5 separate regions of the Homo sapiens genome follow, and regions 1, 2, 3 and 5 are each linked to region 4. The links are contacts of gene promoters, found by promoter capture Hi-C in blood cells and fetal thymus (Javierre and others, 2016). All regions are on one chromosome and are shown on one strand. The core of a region is centred on a gene start or on the middle of the fragment in contact, and the rest is flanking DNA. Distances in the headings are between cores, read along the strand shown.

Evidence for each region. The method cuts DNA at HindIII sites, captures the fragments that hold promoters and counts their contacts. A CHiCAGO score of 5 or more calls a contact.
Region 1: a contact is called between a fragment that was not itself captured here and the fragment with the promoter of MBOAT1 in region 4, in 1 of 17 cell types (M0 macrophages). The highest score is 7.2, in M0 macrophages.
Region 2: a contact is called between the fragment with the promoter of GMNN here and the fragment with the promoter of MBOAT1 in region 4, in 1 of 17 cell types (neutrophils). The highest score is 5.1, in neutrophils.
Region 3: a contact is called between a fragment that was not itself captured here and the fragment with the promoter of MBOAT1 in region 4, in 1 of 17 cell types (neutrophils). The highest score is 6.6, in neutrophils.
Region 5: a contact is called between a fragment that was not itself captured here and the fragment with the promoter of MBOAT1 in region 4, in 3 of 17 cell types (M0 macrophages, M2 macrophages and endothelial precursors). The highest score is 9.6, in M0 macrophages.

The regions. Positions count from the first base shown.
Region 1 is chr6:24,737,838-24,740,537 of GRCh38, forward strand. No RefSeq gene overlaps it. Among named protein-coding and RNA genes, the nearest start is that of LINC02828, 3.1 kb to the right of the region's middle. The HindIII fragment of the contact is 163 bases long and covers 1,313-1,475 here.
Region 2 is chr6:24,773,657-24,776,356 of GRCh38, forward strand. It overlaps GMNN (geminin DNA replication inhibitor), which reads left to right and starts at 1,281. Exons shown (of 7, transcript NM_015895.5): 1 at 1,281-1,588. RefSeq lists an enhancer at 2,196-2,275. The HindIII fragment of the contact is 2,242 bases long and covers 202-2,443 here.
Region 3 is chr6:24,915,772-24,918,478 of GRCh38, forward strand. All of the region lies in intron 1 of RIPOR2 (RHO family interacting cell polarization regulator 2), which reads right to left. Among named protein-coding and RNA genes, the nearest start is that of RIPOR2, 19 kb to the right of the region's middle. RefSeq lists an enhancer at 2,138-2,637. The HindIII fragment of the contact is 2,135 bases long and covers 330-2,464 here.
Region 4 is chr6:20,211,025-20,213,724 of GRCh38, forward strand. MBOAT1 (membrane bound glycerophospholipid O-acyltransferase 1) reads right to left here and starts at 1,445. Exons shown (of 13, transcript NM_001080480.3): 1 at 1,112-1,445. The coding sequence starts at 1,210. RefSeq lists a silencer at 1,251-1,790 and an enhancer at 1,973-2,473. The HindIII fragment of the contact is 5,898 bases long and covers 1-2,700 here.
Region 5 is chr6:24,406,824-24,409,523 of GRCh38, forward strand. MRS2 (magnesium transporter MRS2) reads left to right here. Exons shown (of 11, transcript NM_020662.4): 3 at 1,585-1,621; 4 at 2,638-2,700. Among named protein-coding and RNA genes, the nearest start is that of MRS2, 5.2 kb to the left of the region's middle. The HindIII fragment of the contact is 1,787 bases long and covers 454-2,240 here.

The sequences.
Region 1 (2,700 bases), core at 144-2,643, 4.5 Mb after region 4:
TACTAAGGTTAACAAATGTCAAGCACAATTCTATAACTGGCTAAACTTTTATTCAGGATGGAAAGAGTAAAATAAAGCATTTTTATATATTAAAAAAAAAAAAAAAAGAGGCCGGGCGCGGTGGCTCATGCCTGTCATCCTAGCACTTTCGGAGGCCAAGGCGGGTGAATCACCTGAGGTCGGGAGTTCGAGACCAGCCTGACCAACATGGAGAAACTCTACCTCTACTAAAAATACAAAATTAGCTGGGTGTGGTGGCCCATGCCTGTAATCCCAGCTACTCGGAAGGCTGAGGCAGGAGAATCGCTTGAATCCAGGAGACGGAGGTTGCGGTGAGCCGAGATTGTGCCATTGCACTCTAGCCTGGGCAACAAGAGCGAAACTCCATCTCAAAAAAAAAAAAAAAAAAAAGAATATTTAAAGCATCATTATTCATAGTAGCTCCAAATAAAACATAACCTAACCTAAATGTCCATCAACAGTAGAATGGATAAATAAATTGTGATATAATATAGGCATACAAAGAAATGTTTTACAATAATAAATGATAGCTACATGCAACAACATGGATGAATCCCACAAACATTACATTGAGCGAAAGTAGCCAGACACAAAATAATGCTAACTATATAAGTTTGTATAATACAAACTATATAACCATATAAGACTATATTTATATAGGTTGAAGAAAAACAAATCTAATCTATAGTAGCAGAAGTCAAGATAGTGATTACCCTTGGGAGGAAAAAGAAAATAGTGCCCTAGTTATCTACTGGTAAGTAAAAAACCACTCTGAACTTAGCAACTTCGAACAACCACCACAATGTGCTTTGCCAACAAGTCTGCAATTTCGGCAGGGCTTGGAGGGGACAGCTCATCTCTGCCTCAACAGCATAAGCTTGGACAGTTCAAAGGCTGGGGGCAGTGAGGGCGGGTGTTGTTGGGGACTTGAGACTTGGAGGTGAAATCACTGGGAGTCTTACCCACTTACATGTCTGGCAGTTAATGCCGACTGTTTGCTGGGACCTCAGGGACTGTTGGCCAGAATACCTACACTTGTCCTCTCATGTAGCTGCATGGTTTTTCTTTATCATGGTGGCTGGATTCCAAGAGCAAACATCCCAAGAAACAGGAAGAGAAAGCTGCCAGTTTCTTAAGGCCTGGCCTGAAAACTGGCACAGTATCACTTCTGCAGTACTCTATGGGTTAAGCTGTCAATCTTGATTCAAGGGCAGGAGATAGAGACATTATTTCTCGATGTGAGGAATGGTGTCAAAGTAGTATTTGGGGACTATATTTTATAATCGCTGTAAGCTTTAATTAGGAGCACATGAGAGGAGAGGGTGCTTCTGGGGTTCTGGTTTCTTGAGCTAGGTGGTGATTATACAGGTATCTTCACTCTCTAATGATTCCTTCATCTGTACATATGGTTTGTGCACCTTCCTGAGCATATGTTTCAACTCCAATAAAAGAAAAGCTTAAAAAGGATGCAAACATTCTTTATGTCCAGATATAGAACAATCCCTAAGACATAGTAACATGCTATCATGGTTAAGTACTGAGCTCTGAGGGCTTGCCTGCTGGGTTCAAATCTAGTTCTGCCAATCCTAGGCTTTGTGTCTCAGTTTTCTCATTTGTAAAATGGGGATTATAATAGCTCTTACTCCAGGAGGTTATCTCAAGGATTAAATGAGTTAAAACATGCAAAGCATTCAGAATACTAATAGAAAAATAGAAAGTGCTTGAGAACTGCTTGCTATTTTTGTTATATTAAATGAAAATTGCAATTTGTATAGGTAAAGCAGTGTCTACAGTATGATGCCTTATATGGTTTGGCTGTGTCCCCACCCAAATCTCATCTCAAATTGTAGCTCCCATAATCCCCTTGTGTCATGGGAGGGACCCGGTGGGCAGTAATTGAATCATGGGGGTGGGTTTTTTCCATGTTGTTCTCATGATAGTGAATAAATCTCACAAGATCTGATGGTTTTATAAAGGGCAGTTCCCCTGCATACCTGCCCTTGCCTGCCACCATTTAAGATGTACCTTTGCTCCTCCTTCACCTTCTGCCATGATTGTGAGGCCTCCCCAGCCATATGGAACTGTGTGTCCATTAAACCTCTTTTTCTTTATAAATTACCCAATTGTGAATATTTCATCATAACAGTATGAGAACAGGCTAATACACTGCCATTTGTGGGAAAATGAGTAGACGTACCCATGGGTACAAACTAGCTATAAGATCAGGATATACAATAAACTAATAACGTTGGTTGCCTGTGGGAGGGAGATTTTTCACAGTGTAGACTTTGGTACCTTTTGAATTTTCAACTATATGAAGGCTGCATCTGGGAAATGGGTCTGGGTAGGGAAGAGGACTGTTGCTTTTTTATTGAGTGAAAGTAGCCAGACACAAAAATTTAGTGTTATATTTTCTACAATGTACATGATAAACATACTAAAAGAAAAGACAAGATGGGTCAGATTACAGAGGGCCTTATAAAAGACCAGGCATGGAAATTTAGAGTTGATTAAGGCCTGAAAATGGCACTGGCAATGGTGATAAAAGGATGAATTTAAACACTTAATAGAAAAAATCTAGAAAGTAAAATATCTGGATAGAAAATGATAGAGGTAAGTGAAGAGGACACCCAAGTTTTGGTGCGAGTAACTGTTACGGACTGAATTGTGCCTCCCCAA
Region 2 (2,700 bases), core at 31-2,530, 4.6 Mb after region 4:
TCTCAACTGGGGATGATTTTGCCCTGCGGAAGGTTATCTGACAAGGTCTGCAGACATTTTTGGTCTTCACAATTGGGATGTACTCCTGGTAGCTAGAGGGTAGAGGCCAGGGATACTGCTAAACAGCATACAATGCCCAGGACAGCCCCCACCACGAACAATTTGCCCAGTCTAAAATGTCAATAGAGCCCATACTGAGAAAGCTTGATTTATACCTTTTCCCTTGCTTCTCTCAATAATTATTTCAAATAAAATATATGGTATAAAATTTCATCTGTAATTACCATTTATAGGTAGAAGCTATTACAATAAAACCCACAATATTGTCATTACAACTAATCTCTTTTTTTAACCCATTGCTCATCAGGTAACCTTAAACAACTCATATCTTACCATCCCAAAATATTCAGTCAGTGTTCAAATTTCCCTTGGGTATTTTTTTAAATACAGTGTTTAGTTCAGACGAGATCCATACATTGCATTTGGTAATATGTCCCTTATTTGTACTCGATAACGCCTTCCTTCTGCTTTTTATTTTTAAAATATTTTAAAATTAATTTTTTTTTGAGACAGGGTCTCCCTTTGTCTGTAGTCCCAGCTACTCGGGAGGCTGAGGCAGGAGAATCGCTTGAACCCGGGAGGCGGAGCTTGCAGTGAGCCGAGATCGCGCCACTGCACTCCAGCCTGGGTGACAGAGCGAGACTCCGTTTCAATTAAAAAAAAAAAAAAGAAGGAAAAGGCTAGACGTAATTATTACCAAGGTGTTTCTGCTCCTTCAAATTGCAACAGCAGTTGTAATTTCAGTGCCTAGAACAGTAGTAATTGGCACGTATAAGGCGCTCAATGAATAGCTGCAGGATTAACTGATAATCGGTTGTCTCCTGAACAATTCCTACCGCACCACACCATAGTCAAAACACAAAAAGCCAAAATATAAAAGCCCCTAATACAACTACGAGTCCGTGGAGCCAGGGCTTTACACAAATATATGTCGTGTACTACATATTAATATATATGCACATACAATATTTTGTTCTTCTGGTGCTAACGACTAATGGAGGCAAATCTTTCTCCCTTTCGTAAAGGGCTAAAACTTTGCATTTTAAGGAAGTTCCAAGAGCAGGGTCGGAGGGGAGGGTCAAAGGGCACAGGCCTCCCAGCCCGCAGAAAACCCCCACGGTCCTCAAGTACTCGCTACCGTTGACCGCGCAGGCGCAGGAAGGGGCGGGGCCGAGGGAAGAGGCGATTCGCGGGATCCAGAGGCCCCGCCCCTCGTCTGCGTCAGTTGGTCACGTGGTTGTTCGGAGCGGGCGAGCGGAGTTAGCAGGGCTTTACTGCAGAGCGCGCCGGGCACTCCAGCGACCGTGGGGATCAGCGTAGGTGAGCTGTGGCCTTTTGCGAGGTGCTGCAGCCATAGCTACGTGCGTTCGCTACGAGGATTGAGCGTCTCCACCCAGTAAGTGGGCAAGAGGCGGCAGGAAGTGGGTACGCAGGGGCGCAAGGCGCACAGCCTCTAGACGACTCGCTTTCCCTCCGGCCAACCTCTGAAGCCGCGTCCTACTTTGACAGCTGCAGGGCCGCGGCCTGGGTAAGGGCGAAGGGGTTGTTGAACGGTCGCGGGAGCCGGGGCGGGGTTGGGAGGTGAGTCGAGGGACTGCCCCATTGGCTGGGTCGGTTTTGGCGCGCTCTCACTTCCGCGCTTCCTATTGGCTGGCTGGCGCAGTTCCCGAGGCGCGCGCCGCGGTTGGTAGGCTCGGACGCGCGGGGCCACACTGCCCGCCCCCTAGCCTGGCGCTGGGCCTCCGGGACAAGTTGGCTGGGTCCGGGCTTGGGGACTGCAACGCGGGTAAGGGACTCAGCCTGGGCTTGCCAGCTGTGGGGATGAGGCGAAGCATCCATCCTCTTGGCAGTTAAGTGGCTGGTCCTGATCTGAGGGATCTGCAAATTTGGCTCATGGAAAGAGGTGGCTGAATTCTGCGTCTCCCATTAAACGGATACTGGCGTTGTTGATACGGGTTTCGCATGGACCCTGTCCTGTGCCAGGGTTTTTAATCTAGCTATTAAAGGAACTGGAGAATAACAAGTAAGGGTTGCAAGGTCGCTGACAGGCGTGGGAAACTTGTGAAGGATTAGAATGCTAAGTGGCTTTCAGCTTTTTTCACACTAAGGTACGTTTTACGTCGCAACCTAGGACACAGCTATCTAACCAAATGAGACGTGATGGAAGCAATGTTTCTCGTCTCTTCAATTCCATTCTGTTCAGTTGCATTTTTCTAAGCAGTGTTGCTCATGACTCACTAATTTCGAGATCACGGCCCGCGACCCGCAGTTTGAAGAACATTGCGTAGGGTCTGTTTACTGGGGCCCGAACACCATTTTCTTAACATGAAATAGAGTAGAAAATAGCAGGATGCCCGCACAAATTAGATTGTTTTGTTTTCTAAGCTTTTTTTTTTTTTGAGACGGAGTCTCGCTCTGTTGCCCAGGCTGGAGTGCAGTGGCAGGATCTCGGCTCACTGCCACCTCCACCTGTCGGGTTCAAGCGATACTCCTGCCTCAGCCTCCCGAGTAGCTGGGACTACAGACGAGCACCACCACGTCCGGCTAATTTTTGTATTTTTGGTAGAGATGGAGTTTCACCATATTGGCCAGGCTGGTTTCGAACTTCTGACCTCAGGTGATCCGCTTGCCTCGACCTTC
Region 3 (2,707 bases), core at 147-2,646, 4.7 Mb after region 4:
TTAACAAGCACACTGATGGTTCTGGCACAGTCATCTCAGAATGCACTTCAGGAAACACTGGTCTGAACCAAGTCCAAATAGGCATCCAGCTCCCTTGGCACTGCAGTTGGTTCCAGAAGCCTTCCCAGCTGCATCCCCGCCACTCTGCCATGCAGGCTCTCAGCTCTGGCTCTTCTCACCCTGCATCCAGGGAAGAGTCTTGGAAAAAGTGCTGGACTCAGAGTCGATGCCTGGGTTCTATTTTAGTGTTGCCAGTAGAGAACTCAGTGGCCTTTGTGGACCTATGTCCTCATCTATCAAACGAAGGGTTTGGACAACCTGATCACCAAAGCTTCTTTTGGCTCTAACATTTGACAATTCCTGCTTCCACCTTTTTCCTCAGGCCATTCCTACTGCCTGAAAATTCTCTGCTGAGCCCTTGCCTCACTTTTCCTCCTACCTTTAATATTTGGCTCTAAAAATCCTGCCTGGCCCATGAAGCCCTGTTCAAACATTACCTCCTTCATGACACTTTCCTTGGTCATCTGTGCTGTACCTGAGTCCTCTTGTAAGTCATCTGTCCCCTGAGTGCAGACTCAATCACACATCTTCCATTTGTTGTAGCTATTTAATACACTTCTCCTCATTGGTTTATAAGCTCTGCGATGTCAGGAACTATGTTTTGTGCTGCATATAGGATAGTAACCTCTATATTAATGAGTGTAGAGGATAGCCAATAAATATTGACTAAACGAGAAATGAGAGCATACACTATCCCTGCTGGTTTCTGCCACCTTTTTCCCTGGAAAAAGAACATAACAAGCCTGCATTTATTGGTGTCTGAACTGTACCTATAGAAGCATATTTCAACCCGACAAGTGACAGCTGGGTCTTGCTCACCGCTTTCTGAACTGCTAAGAGAAAGACCCTGTTATCCTTTGCCCGTGTCTGGCACCCATGATAAGGTTCTCAAGGGAGTGGACATCTTAGGCTATTTCCTTGCCATTGTCACACATATCTGCTTGCACAATGAGAAACTTGTTTGGCCAACACTCTTGACATTTTAGTATGTCCCAAGAATGAATGTCCCGGAGGTTCAGAAGTCAGTCCCCTGTACTTGGGCAAATTATCTTAAGCCTAAACCTCCTCTCCACCCCCACTTCTAGCTTCCACACCAAGTGACCTGTAAGGCTGCATAGGTAGACAACAATCAGTGAAATGTTCAAAGTTGATGGGAAATAAAATATTCTCTAAATATAGCAGTCTCCTTCTCTCCAGAAACTTGAGATTGGATTTCTCATATATTATTATTATATTACATATTTACATATAGAGATCATTTTCTGCAATAATATAATCTAGGCCAACAGTTCCCCCGGCCCTTTTCTTGGTTTCAAGATCCATTGATACAATACCATAATCTAGAATAGCCTTTTTGAATTTTTGGTCCCAAGACCATTTTATGCTTTTAAAAAATATTGAGGACTTTGGGGACCCCTTGAAAGGGTCCTGGGAAACCTCATGAGTCTTTAGTTCACATTTTGAGAATCAGTGATCTAGATGGACAAAAATGTTGGCAAAATGTTAACTTTACAAATTCGTATAGTTCTAAACGCCATAGGCTGAAAGTAAATGGCATACATTTAATCAATATGTATTATTGCACAAAGGTATTAAAATAAGTATAACATGATTCAAAGCAGTTGTAGAAGTGATTGGAAAGTATCAATATCTACGTGTAAGCACAATGCTAAGTACTTGATATGTAGTAGGCTTTTTTTTCTTTCTTTTTTTCTTGAGACGGAGTCTTGCTCTGTCACCCAGGCTGGAGTGCAATGGCGCGATCTTGCCTCACTGCAACCTCCGCCTCCCGGGTTCAAGTGATTCTCCTGCCTCAGCCTCCCGTGTAGCTGGGATTACAGGCGCGTACCACCAGGCCTGGCTAATGTTTTGTATTTTTAGTAGAGACGAGGTTTCAACATGTTGGCCAGGCTGGTCTCGAACCCCTGACCTTGTGTTCTGCCCGCATCAGCCTCCCAAAGTGCTGGGATTATAGGCGTGAGCCACCACGCCCAGCTGTAGTAGGCTTTTTTAAAGGTTCTAAGTTGACTTTCACTTCACAATATCTTTCCTTTTTCTCTCATGATCAGGGGAAACATTAAAAAAAGAGACGTATCTGTAAAGGTCTTCCAAGGTGATTTATTTATTCTGTGTCCCTGGGTCTGATGCAGTCCCTGGTTTGCAGGTTATCCCATGTTGCCCCTTTCTGTCCATCTCCATCTTCTGTCTCCTGGAGGGCTCACCTGTAGGGACCACGTCAGTGGCCGCCCTGTGATGTCCAGGTGGGTCTAGCCAATGGGGATCCCCAACAGGAGATGAAAGTGAGGTGGGAATATGCATTCCCTGGCTCCTCCCTATGAGGTCACCTTGGGCCCCAGTATCCCCTGCATCCCCATCCCCCTTGTAACTCGTCTCATTGTAAATAAGCTTCCTTGAATTATTCTAACATGAGGGAGCCGTCAGCTTCCTGACATTGGCTTGATTGATAATCATTAATCATTACCTATTATTGAAAAATTTAAAGTATCTGCTTTTATCCAGTCATTCATATTTTAAAAATATTTCTTCTTCAGGTAGCTCCTTTAATTTAATTTAATTTTCATTTCTCTTTCCATTGTAGGCCAGTGATGTTATTGCATGTAATCCTGTTTAATTCTTTTCCAACTCC
Region 4 (2,700 bases), core at 195-2,694:
AAGTTTCTGACTTTCTGTATTCTGCAACTGATGAGAACGCAATGGTCACATCAGGTGGAGTTCTCAGTCAGGTCCTCAGAGTGAGCCAGGTATGAGGGTGGCTCAGTAAACAGGACCCGAATAAGGCAAATGTCCAGGTCTCACTTTCTCATTGCTGAAGGGGTGTGCGCAAAGGGCAGCAGGTGTGCTCTTGTTAAAAGGAAAGGAAAAGGAGCACTGGTGAGAGGAAGGGGAAGAAAACCAGGCAAAAAAGCATGAAACAAAACAGGAGCGCAGTGGGTCCTCCCCCAGCATGCCCTGCCCAATTCTATTTAAATCAACATTTACTGATTGGGTCACTACTAAGTATCCCGCAGATCTAGCCTGCAGCACCTGAAGAGACAAGGAAATGAGTAAGACGGGCTTCATCTTCAGGAAGGTTTCTTGCCAGGAATCACTGTTGTTGCCATTTTTAATTTTAATGGTTGTAGATAATTCCTGGACAGTTCAAATAACTTCACTGGGGCCCCTCTCCTCCCCCTAACCTGTCCTACTCAGAAGCTCCAGCCCCAGGCATATGAGCCAACCGAACCCTGGGAAAACCAAAGTGTCCTTGTGTGTCCCGCATCACACACGGTACAAAATAACTGTCACCCCTGAACAAGCCTCGCCTCAGAAGTCTAAAACCCAGGTCCTGCATTCAAAATCTATAGACTACCGTCTACAGATTCATCGCGCTTGTTTTTTAAGTAGGGTCATCTAAATTAAAAACAATAACGACTTGAGGACACTGATGAAAGAAACACTGGTTTCATGTATCAGACTACTTCAGAACTTGATTACAGGAAACGAGGCAATCCCAAACTTAAAGAAAAAAAAGTTCAGTAGAACTTGCCGCGCAGGCTGTACCAATATTTTTTCACACTTACAAGGAGAAAAACACTAACACCAACTCAAGAAGGGAAAACACACACACACACACACACACACACACACACACAAAAACCAACTGTCTAGTGTGTGGCTGTAAAATACGCCATGGAGGCGGAGGGACGGTGGCTAACACTTTCGCCCGCCCCGTGCACGCGATCGCTGGGGAGCTGGGGTCGCTGCGCTCCCGGCCTGCAGTTACCTGGTCCAGCGGGATGCCCAGGAGCTCGCTGAGCGGGTGCAGGTAGGTGGAGCCCGTGGTGCGGTAGGAAAGGCTGGACGGCTGCGGCTCTGCTGCCATCCTGCATCTTCGGGAGGTGGCTGCCCCTGTCCCAGCCCGCAACACCCCCTGCTCGGCGTCCTCCCGCCCGGGTGCTCTTGGGTGGTTGCCCCGAGAGGCGCACGGCCGCCTGGTTCGCGGGGGAGCGAACGGGAGGCCGGGGAATGCGAACCGGCGCAAACTCTCGAGGCGCAAACTCTCGAGGCGCAAACTTGGCTTTGGCGCTGGCGCTGCAGCCACGGGCGCCGTAGGAGGGCCGGGCCCAAGGCGCCCCGCTTCCCGCTCCCTTCCTCTCCGCGCCCATTGGCCCGGCCGCTCGGGACGGCCCCGAGAGGAGGGAAGGAGGGAGGAAAAGTGGGGACTCCGAGCCCGGCCCCCAAGCGCCGCCCGGCCCGCCCAGCCTGGCCTGCACCGAGGCCGACCGGGAGAGGGAAAGCGACGCCAGCGGGCGCCGCCGCCTGGCCCTGCAGCTGGAGGCGGGACGCGCCTTTCCTCCTCCCGGGCTGACCGTCCTAGCCCCCCGCCAGACAAAACGACCTCACCCAGCGGGCGCCTTCCACTAGAGAGCACCACCCACCCCGCCCCACCCTGTTTTGGTTTCGCCGCCGCAGTCGAAGCGGCTGAGTGGCTGCGTTTCCCTTTCAAGCCGTAGAGGGTTCCTCTGCCGGTGGCTGGAAGCTGGAGCGCCGCAGCCACCAGACTCCCTACTTCCTTTACCCTCCTCTGCGCTAGGCATAGTTTCCTACACCCTGATCTGACATGTTCGGTGTCACACAAGCAAATACAGGGGACTGCTAGCTTCGGGTCACTTCCGTCTCTGTGGAGTGAGAGTTATTTCACCTCTGTAAGAAACGGTGTTTACTGTCATACTATGTGCATTCTGATAAGTCATTTGCATGCCACGGGTCCTCAAAAAGGGTGCCTTGCTCCTTAACTTGTCTGCCCCCGAACACCCACACATCAATGTTACTTGGAAAACTTTTCCAAGTTATTGCTAGGTTCTGAGAAACATAAAAATCTTGAAGATCCTTTTCAGGAATCGCTAGCTGATGAAAAAGGGTTTCAGGAAGGTAATATTCTGGGCTGCTGGGTAGAAAACCAAAGAAAGTGAGCTCACGTGGCCCCCAGCCTCCGCTGGGTAAACCGGCATTCGATCAGACAGGCAATGACTTTCGGGGCCGACTTTATCAATGTGGCCTCCAGCTTCAAATTAAACCGAAGGCCTGTCAGGCACTGGCAACAACTTACTCTCCAAGACTCAGGCCTCACTCTTGCCTTCTTCAGGAGTTTTATCACCATCAAACTGCACTGAGCATTAAATTGCCAGGCCAGAGTTTCTCAACCTATGTCCCCTGTGGAGGAGGAAAAAAAAAAGTCTGTACCACCACTCCCACAAGCTAACCGAATGGAGATGTCACCACCAGATGATAATCTCTACCACTCACAAGCAAACCCACACTACAGACAGACAGACACATGCACACACGCACACAGGCATATACTTGAGGATC
Region 5 (2,700 bases), core at 97-2,596, 4.2 Mb after region 4:
CAGGTGAAATAATTGCAAAGAACACTTAAGAAATTCATAAAGCTATGGAATCTGAGAAAGAAAAATTTAATTTGTGCTGTTTGAAATAGTTTAGAAAGTGAGCTGGTTACAAAGTAAATATTTTTTTCTTTATAATTTGTATGATTTAAAAAATTTTTTTAAGTTCCATTAAAGAAAAAAAGGGTACATATAAATATTGAGATGCAAAAATATTCAGCATATGTTGCTAATTTGGAAGGAGGGAGACTGCAAAGCAGTATGTATAAGTATGTTTTATTAGGAAAATGTTTGGAAGGATATTCAGTGAAATATTGACATGGTTTTCTCTAAAATTTGTCATTTCAGGTGATTAATATAGTTTTATGTTACGTATATTTATTTTCAAATTTTCTGCAGTGGGTTTATGTATTTGTGAAATATAAGGCTGAAAGCTAGACTATTACACAAATATAAAGCTTTCTTTGATATAAATTTTCCTTTAATGTTCTATGGAACTTATATATTCATATTAATTTTATTTTTGCTGATGAGAAGCAAGATAAAATATATATATTGTGAGTTTTTATTGTGTGATTAACACAGCATGTATATTTCCATGGTAGTAACCCAAGACCTATATTGTACTTAAACCTGTATGTTGGAGTGTCTTTCTGAAATGTGTCTGTCGTAGTAAGTAGTACAGCTCAGCACATAGTGATTCATTAAATGTTTCACAGCTTCAAACTTGACTGTGGATAAACATCACTGAAAGATAGTCCCCTACTTTGCAGGAAATAGGTGCATTTTCTGTATCAAATCCTCTCTTCAAACTATCAGAAGGGGTTCTGTAAATCTTTATTGATTCTGCAACACCCACCAAAGAGACTTTGGCCTCATGTAGACATTTAGATTCACAAGGCGGGCCATACTTGGTCCCAGTCTACTCAGAAGGATAAGGGACAGGAGAAACAACAGGGTAGTGTTAGGTGTTTCCTCTTCAAAAGAAGTCTTTGCAGCCATCCAGGGGCTTCTCTGGTCCTCTGAGTGATCGCTCAGTGACAAGGAGATAAGATTCTCAAAGGTGGATGTGAGATTCATCTTGGCTCGAATCCCCATGCCCCGTAGTGACAGTATCCCTTGTAACCATCGCAGGGGCACAGTGTCCAGGATTCTGGCTGGGAACATGGCCACAAGAGCCACCACAATCAGGAAAGGGCAAAGAGAGCTATTGCTTTTCACCTGATAACTGTAATTTGTTCGTCTTCCCAGTCCAGTGCAGTCTACCAGTCAATGGTCATTTTTACCATAAGGATTGTTACCTAGTAACAACACAACTGATACTCCTTTATCAACTTTCTAGAGGAACCAAGATAGAAAGTTAAACCCAGGTCTGATTTTTCCTATCAAAGGAAAAAAGGATTTTAAAAAAACCCTTAACTCATAACTGGATTTAATCTAAAGAAGGTCAGTAATGGTTTATATTTGCATTTCAACATTTTGGGGATATTACTTACAATACCATAAATTCTTAACTAAATTAGCAATACCATAAGTAGCATTCTAATTTGAAAGAAAATCATAATTTGTTTTATTCTCTATTTTCAGACAAAATTTGACAAACAGGGAAACGTTACTTCTTTTGGTGAGTGATTAGCATTCTAAATCATTTTTTAAACATTTAATGAGTGAATCTGATAGAAATCAAGAAATTGTAGTATTTTGAGTAAAATATTCTTTGCATATACAGGTGTGTTGAAAGAGATCTTTCTTCAGCATTTGTCCATCAGTCTTAATTGGAGCTGGCAATACTCAGACTGTGTGTATTCTCCCAGAATTGTTTTCTTCTAGCAGGAGCCACTTTTTGCTCTAACAGGCTATTGAAGGAATATTTGGGAGAGCAGAGGCTGGTGTAGAACTGGAGCCCAGAGACACACTCTTTTTCTCTTTTGTCTCTCTTGTTGGCGTCCCTTTCACTGCCCTCATTCATTCTCCTGAAGCATGTTTAAGGCAGAGTCACATAATACCACTGACATTGCAGTGGGTGACAAAAGATGAACAGGGCCATGTCACTGCATGGCAGCCACATGGAACTCTGCTGCTGATGGCTCTCTGTGGACAGCTACTTTAAAAAGTGAGACTAGGCATTACTTTACAGTGTGACTTCAGATGTGAGTTTCACATCTCCCTTGAGAATGAATCAGTCTCAGGTAATAAATTCAGCTTTTCTCATTTTTGTATTAGTCTAAGAACAAAGAAAATCAAGCTTATCTGTTCACATATATAAAATACTGAAGATGATGTTGTAGTAAAAATAGAAAATATAGTTGTGTACAGTTTATATTTAAGAGAGATAACCTGTCTCTAGAGCTGGACATTTATAGGTTCTAATGATGCATAGTTGTGGTTTCTGTATTAGTCTCAAGGGTCTTCTAAGTAGTGAGAAAGTTATGAGGTATAGATAAGAAAATCATTAGTTTGACTCTATTTAGCCCGAGTATGTTTTCTAGGTAAAAATGGATATTAAAAGACTTAATTTTAGTTTTTGTTTCTGGTAGTAACCAAAAATTGTCTTGATGGTGGTGGGAGGACTGCTCTGATGGAAAAATCTAAGCCATTTAATGTATTTGGTTTAGCCCTCTCTGTTTATTTCTTTTATAGAAAGGAAGAAAACTGAATTATACCAAGAGTTAGGTCTTCAAGCCAGAGATTTGAGATTTCAGC